Regions from separate parts of the Homo sapiens genome. Here region 2 is linked to region 1. Evidence: promoter capture Hi-C in human tissues and cell types (Jung and others, 2019). All regions are on one chromosome and are shown on one strand. Each heading gives the region's core, a stretch centred on a gene start or on the middle of the fragment in contact. The rest is flanking DNA. Distances are from core to core; before and after follow the strand shown. Region 1 overlaps TALDO1 (transaldolase 1). Region 2 holds the start of IRF7 (interferon regulatory factor 7).

The links. The method cuts DNA at HindIII sites, captures the fragments that hold promoters and counts their contacts. A contact is called where the count stands out against the background at its distance.
Region 2: a contact is called between the fragment with the promoter of IRF7 here and a fragment that was not itself captured in region 1, in 3 of the 25 tissues and cell types used here (H1 embryonic stem cells, dorsolateral prefrontal cortex and spleen).

The regions. Positions count from the first base shown.
Region 1 is chr11:759,411-763,796 of GRCh38, forward strand. TALDO1 (transaldolase 1) reads left to right here. Exons shown (of 8, transcript NM_006755.2): 4 at 712-843; 5 at 3,934-4,109; 6 at 4,337-4,386. Among named protein-coding and RNA genes, the nearest start is that of TALDO1, 14 kb to the left of the region's middle. RefSeq lists an enhancer at 3,178-4,377. The HindIII fragment of the contact is 7,127 bases long and covers 1-4,386 here.
Region 2 is chr11:614,674-617,199 of GRCh38, forward strand. IRF7 (interferon regulatory factor 7) reads right to left here and starts at 1,277. Exons shown (of 11, transcript NM_001572.5): 1 at 1,240-1,277; 2 at 672-974; 3 at 424-586; 4 at 124-334. The coding sequence starts at 691. CDHR5 (cadherin related family member 5) reads right to left here. Exons shown (of 15, transcript NM_021924.5): 15 at 1,910-2,526. RefSeq lists an enhancer at 139-733. The HindIII fragment of the contact is 18,510 bases long and covers 1-2,526 here.

The DNA.
Region 1 (4,386 bases), core at 698-3,197:
CCACCATGCCCAGCTAATTTGTTGTATTTTTAATAGAGATGGGGTTTGACCATTTTGGCCAGGCTGGTCTTGAACTCCTGACGTCATGATCCACCTGCCTCGGCCTCCCAAAGTGCTGGGATCACAGGCATGAGCCACTGTGCCCGGCTGCTAGTGTTTTTTGTTTTGATTTGTTTTGTTTGTTTTTTGAGACAGAGTCTCGCTCTGTTGCCAGTGTAGAGTGCAGTGGTGTGATCTCAGCTCACTGCAACCTTCACCTCCCGGGTTCAAGCGATTCTCCTGCCTCAGCCTCCCAAGTAGCTGGGACTACAGACACCCGCCACCATACCCAGCTAATTTTTTTGTATTTTTAGTAGCGACAGGGTTTCACCATGTTGGCCAGGATGGTCTCGATCCCTTGACCTTGTGATCTTCCCGCCTCAGCCTCCCAAAGTGTTGGGATTACAGGCGTGAGCCACGGCACCTGGCCCAGTGTTTTTTAATACAAATTATAGCCTATGGATCCCACTGAGGACCTCTGTTTGTGAGACTGGGTGTGAGTTGCTGTCAGAGCCATTCTGCAAACCTCCAGTGAGGGGAAGGTTGAGGGCAGTGGTTGGTGCTCACGGTGGTGCTGCTCAAAACTGACAGGCAGACACCCGGCCTCCAGCTTGCTCTGCGTGGTGGGCAACCTGCGTGATCTGAGGGGATGGGTTCTTCTTGCTCCTACAGGCTCTCCTTTGATAAAGATGCGATGGTGGCCAGAGCCAGGCGGCTCATCGAGCTCTACAAGGAAGCTGGGATCAGCAAGGACCGAATTCTTATAAAGCTGTCATCAACCTGGGAAGGAATTCAGGCTGGAAAGTAAGTGGTCCCCCACAAGGAAGGAGCTCTCAGAGATTTTTCCTCTGTTGGAGCAGGGTCTACATGGCATCAGGCAAGTTTGACTCTCTCAGCCCTGGGGAATGCCAGACTGGGGAGCACAGCCCACAGCTTGGACTTGACCAGCTCATGTCAGCCTAGATCTGCCCTCTGCTCCAGAGCCAGCTCCCTCACTTGCTGGTGATCAGAAATGAGGGATTTCCCAGGAAGTACCATCCACCCACTCAGCAGAGAAGAAAAGCCACTAGTTAGCACCTGCAGATTCAGATTCTGTCCTTCCTCTGTCCTGATCAACACAAGCCTATGTTTACATGATTTTTAAAAAGTAAACTATTGTTATATAAAATATATGCTGGCTGGGCAAGATGGCTCATGCCTGTAATCCCAGCAATTTGGGAGGCTGAGATGGGAGGATCACTTGAGCCCAGGAGTTCCAGACCAGCCTGGGCAACAAAGTGAAACCTTGTCTCTACAAAAATATAAAGAAATTTTAGGCTGGGCACGGTGGCTCCCAGCACTTTGGGAGGCCGAGGCGTGGGGATCACGAGGTCAGGAGATCGAGACCATCCTGGCTAACACGGTGAAACCCCGACTCCACTAAAAAATATAAAAAATTAGCCGGGCATGGTGGCACACACCTGTAGTCCCATTTAGGAGGCTGAGGCAGGAGAATTGCTTGAACCCAGGAGGCGAAGGTTGCAGTTAGCTGAGATCACACCACTGCACTCCAGTCTGGGTGACAGAGCAAGACTCTGTCTCAAAAAGAAAAGAAAACTTTTAGGCCGGGCACGGTGGCTCATACCTGTAATCCTAGCACTCTGGAAGCCTGAGGTGGGTAGATCACCTGAGGTCAGGAGTTCGAGACCAGGCTGGCCAAGATAGTGGAACCCCGTCTCTACCAAAACTACAAAAAATTTAGCTGGGCGTGGTGGCAGGTGCCTGTAATCCTAGCTACATGGGAGGCTGAAGCAGGAGAATCACTTCAACCTGGGAGGTGGACGTTGCAGTGAGCCGAGATTGCACCATTGTACTCCAGCCTGGGTGACAGAATGAGACTCCATCTCAAAAAAAAAAAAAAAAAAGAAAAGAAAAACTAGCCCACCCCTGTGATTCCAGCTACTTAGGAGGCTGAGGCGGGAGGATCGCTTGAGCCTGGGAAGTTGAGGTTCCAGTAGCTATGATCGTACCACTGCACTCCAGCCTGGGTGACAGAGTGAGACCCTGTCTCAGAAAAACCAAACCAAACATATGTACGTTCAGAGTGGAAGAGACAGAAAATGTATAAAACAAAGTAAAACTCCTCTATGATGTTCTCACCCAGAAGCAGCCAATGCTATACTCAAATAATTCGCATCAGGAAGAGGTGTTTTGTTTCCACATCTGTGTGTCTGCATGTTCTACCACCTGCCATCACTGACCTGCTCTGAGATAGCATCTCACTTTTTCACCACGGCTGGAGTGCAGTGGCACGAACTTGGCTCACTGCAGCCTTGACTCCAGGCTCAAGCTATCTTTCCACCTCAGTCCCCCAAGTGGCTGGGATGACAAGCACACATACCACTCCTGGGTAATTTCACCACGTTCCCCAGGCTGGTCTCGAACCCCTGGGCTCAAGAGATCTCTACCCATCTTGGCCTCCCAAAGTGCTGGGATTATAGGCATGAGCCATTGTGCCTGGCCTCATTTGTGTGTTTTTTTGTTTTTTTTTGTTTTTGAGACGGAGTTTCATTCTCGTCCATGCTGGAGTGCAATGGTGCTATCTCAGCTCACTGCAACCTCCACCTCTGGGGTTCAAGAGATTCTCCTGCCTCAGCCTCCGGAGTAGCTGGGATTACAGGCAGGCGCCACCACTCCCGCCTAATTTTATATTTTTAGTAGAGATGGGGTTTCTCATGTTAGTCAGGCTGATCTCAAACTCCCAGCCTCAGGTGATCCGCCCGCCTCGGCCTCCCAAAGTGTTGGGATCACAGGTTTGAGCCACTGCACCTGGCCGGACCATTTGTTTTTATATGTTGGAAAATACTCCATTTTATGGATAGGCCACAGTTATTCATCTGTTGGTGGACACCTGGTCAGTTTCCATCTCTTGAGCTGTGATGTATATTGCTGTGGTCGGTTTCCATTTCTCGGGCTGTGATGTATGCTGCTGCTCTGAACACATCTGCTGCTATGAACACATCTGCTGCTCTGAACACAGATGTGCAAGTTTTGTCCTGGACATGTGTTTTTGTTTCTCGTGGGCATATGCCTAGGAGTGGAGTCTCTGGGTGACTGCTGGAGGAACTGCAGGCTGTTTCCCAACTCAGCTGTGCCATCTGCTGTCCCCCTCGAACACCCCCGTGTGGCCATGTGGCAGAGGCGCCTGGGGAGGGAACTTGTGTCTGAAGGTGCCTGAGCAGAGCCTTGGCTGTCTCATCCCATGCCCCAGCCACATGGCAAAGTATGGGCACTGCTCCGTCCTTGGGGATCAACCCCAGGATGTCCAAAGTGCACTGGGATTTGGGCAAGTGGCCTAGTGAGGCCAAGGGGCTCCTCTCAGCAGAAACCAGGGTGCTACGGGCCTGCTGCAGGGTGGCCCCAGGAATGGGTAGGGTGGAACAGGGTGAGGACTGGAATGTGGTCAGAGATGACTCAGTGGTTCTAGCCTGGGAGCTGAGCCCTGGTGAGTTCTGGGATGAGGTGACGGCCTGGCGCAAGAGCACGGGCACCCAGAGGGCCTCCCTTGCCTTTGTCTATTGTGTCATGTGGGTTGGAGAAAATCCTGGTCACCCATAACCCACTATCCACTTAGAGCCCTCGAGTCTTACCGATTTGTTCTTAACAATGGCATGAGCCTGTTCCTGCCTTTTTAGTTTAAGGCCCGTGAGCGTCTTTGGCAGCCTGTGGCTCTGGGTGGGCACCTGGCCTGCATTCACCTGCCCCGCCCTCACCTGCCCCGCCCTCACCTGCCCCCGCCCTCACCCGCCCCCGCCCTCACCCATCCCCGCCCTCACCGTCCCCGCCCTCACCCGCCCCCGCCCTCACCTGTCCCCGCCCTCACCTGCCCCGCCCTCACCTGTCCCCGCCCCGCAGGGAGCTCGAGGAGCAGCACGGCATCCACTGCAACATGACGTTACTCTTCTCCTTCGCCCAGGCTGTGGCCTGTGCCGAGGCGGGTGTGACCCTCATCTCCCCATTTGTTGGGCGCATCCTTGATTGGCATGTGGCAAACACCGACAAGAAATCCTATGAGCCCCTGGAAGACCCTGGTGAGGGTCCCTCTGTGGTAATGGGGTAAGGGGAGCAGCCTCAGCAGCACCTCAGGCAGGAAGAGCCCGAGACGGAGCTGCCGCATCAACAAGCAGTGAGGTGCACAGGTCGGCGCGGGGCAGGCAGGGGTGGCGGCTCAAGGTAGTGCAGCCGGCAGGCACTGGGAGGGCAGGTGGGGTGGTACCTCTGCCGAAGCCTTCCTGGTCACAGCTTGGTCTCTTTCCAGGGGTAAAGAGTGTCACTAAAATCTACAACTACTACAAGAAGTTTAGCTAC
Region 2 (2,526 bases), core at 27-2,526, 150 kb before region 1:
GTCCTGGGCCTGCTGGCAGCCTCTCCCAGAACAGCTTCTAAAACCACAAATCTGACCCAGAGAATGTTCCCCTTTGCCCAAGCAGGACGAATGCCAACGCCCTTGGCAGCCGGCGTCGCTCACCTCGCCAGCACAGCTCCCGGCTGAGCGCGTACACCTTGTGCGGGTCGGCCGGGTCCCCCGAGTTATCCCGCAGCATCACGAAGCGACGCGTGCTGCGCAGTGCGCAGCGGAAGTTGGTTTTCCAGCCGGCGCGCTCCGCAGTCTCAGCCTCGGGGGGCGGGCCACCTCCCCTGCTGCTAGGCGGCCACCTGCCGCGGGCCACAGCCCAGGCCTGAAGAGGGGGACAGAACACGTGTGCCGGGCCCGCGGGGTCCTAGGCGGGCTCTCCCACCCGGGGCGGGGCGGGGCTGGGGTCCCCACCTTGAAGATGCGCGCGTCGGCCTCGCTCAGGTCCTTGCGCGCGAAGTGCTTCCAGGGCACGCGGAAACAGGTGCGGGCCTCGTCCAGCCACTGCAGCCCCTCATAGCAGCCGCTGCTGATCTCTCCAAGGAGCCACTCTCCGAACAGCACGCGTGGGGCTGCCCTGCGGGTGCCCGGCCGCGGAGAGTCAGGGCCGGCTGCAGGGCGCTCGGGGACTGGCATCTGGAGAGGGTGGGCCGGGCTCTTACCTCTCAGGAGCCAAGGCCATTGCTCCTTCTGCAGGGGCAGTTAGGTGGCGGTCAGGTGTTATAACAGGGGAGGTAAGGGCTCCTGTCGCAGCAGACGCCAGGCCGCGGCCACAGGTCGTGTGGCCAGGTGTCACAGGTGTCCACAGGTGTGGACTGAGGGCTTGTAGCCACCGACGCTGCCTCGGTATGGATCTCTTGGCAGAGGGGGCTACAGGTGTGACTGCAGGTGTGGCCGGCGCGCACACATGAAGTCACAGGTGTTGAACCAGTGTCCAGGCCTGGCGGGAAGGCGCAGGCCGGACCCTGCGGAGACGGGAAAGGCGACGTCAGGGGCGGGTCAGGCTCCCGGGAAAGCGAAACCTAAACAGTGGCGCTTCGCACCCTCCTCGATCCCACCCCGTCCGGTTCTCAGCTCCGCGGAACCCCGCCTCCGCCTCCGCCTCCCTCCCCGCCCGACCCTCATCTCTCAGGCTCCCCCAGCTCTTGGCTCTACCCCTCCGGGGTCACGGAGCCCCCACGGAGGCTCTCGCTCCCGGCCTGCACCGCGTGGGTCTGGGGTCCCCAGTACCTGGGTGCCAGAGCCGCCGGGACGGGAAGTTTCGTCTCGCGGGGAAGCGGAGGGCCGGCGCTTTTATGGTGGCCAGGCGGGAGTTTCCGGGAAGGGCGCGCGCCGCCTGTTCTTATTATTGGATGCGACCAGCGGAACCCCGCCCCGGCCAGCGCGGAGTAGGGAGGAGTGGAGGGCGTTGGGAGTGGCTGCAGTGAGCCGAGATGGAGCCACTCCACTACAGCCCAGGGGACAGAGCAAGACTCAGTCTCAAAAAAAAAAGGAAGTGGGTAATGGGAGGTGGACGTGCCTCGAAAAAGGGGCAGCTGCACCGTTTGCGTTTCTTTTTTTGAGATGGAGTTTCGCTTTTGTTACCCAGGCTGGAGTGCGGTGGCACAATCTTGGCCCACCACAACCTCCGCCTCCCGGGTTCAAGTGATTCTCCTACCTAAGCCTCCCGAGTAGCTGGGATTACAGGCATGAACCACCACGCCCGGCTAATTTTGTATTTTTAGTAGAGACGGGGTTTCTCTATGTTGGTCAGGCTGGTGTCGAACTCCCGACCTCAGGTGATCTGCCCACCTCGGCCTCCCAAAGTGCTGGGATTTAGGCGAGAGCCGCCGTGCGCAGCCCCCTTTGGGTTTTTTACATTGTTCAGTCAAGAATATCAGATACTCTCACAATTAAAACATTTGGAAAGGAATTAATGGTGTATTTCCATTAGGGAAAGTGCTGACAAGCCGCAAGGGATCCCTTGATGGTTCTGGGCATGGGCGCCCAGCCTGGGCTCTGGCTTTGGGAGCAGCGAGGGGAATGTGTCTCTCACCCCTAGGCCTCCTGGTCTGGCTCCTGCTCAGGCCACACGGCGCACCCACCCCCAGCGCGCCTCAGTCCAGGTCACTGGGCAGGGTGTTTACTGCTGCGCTCCAACCCAAGCATGTAGATTTCAGAAGGGGACTAGGACCCCCGGCAGGTGTTTGAGACCACCGGCTCCCAAGTGCGTCGCCTTGGGGGTTTGCATCGGCTCCTCAGCCTCCCCAGGCAATCTCTGTGTAGGGTCGGGAGCGGGAGGTCTGAGATGAGCCGGGTGCCTGAGATCTCCGGTGCAGGTCGGGGGAGGGGAGCCCCCCTCGGGCTGTGGTTAGAGCGGGAGAGGAACTTCCCAGACTAGCTGGCACAGAGCCTCGGGAAGGCGGCGGGCACTGCAGGTGGTTTACGGGAAGTGCTGCAGCCTTGGGGTGGGGACAGCGTGGCCAGACCCACCGCCTCATCTGCACACCTGGGCTCAAGCGCTAATGACGACAGGGG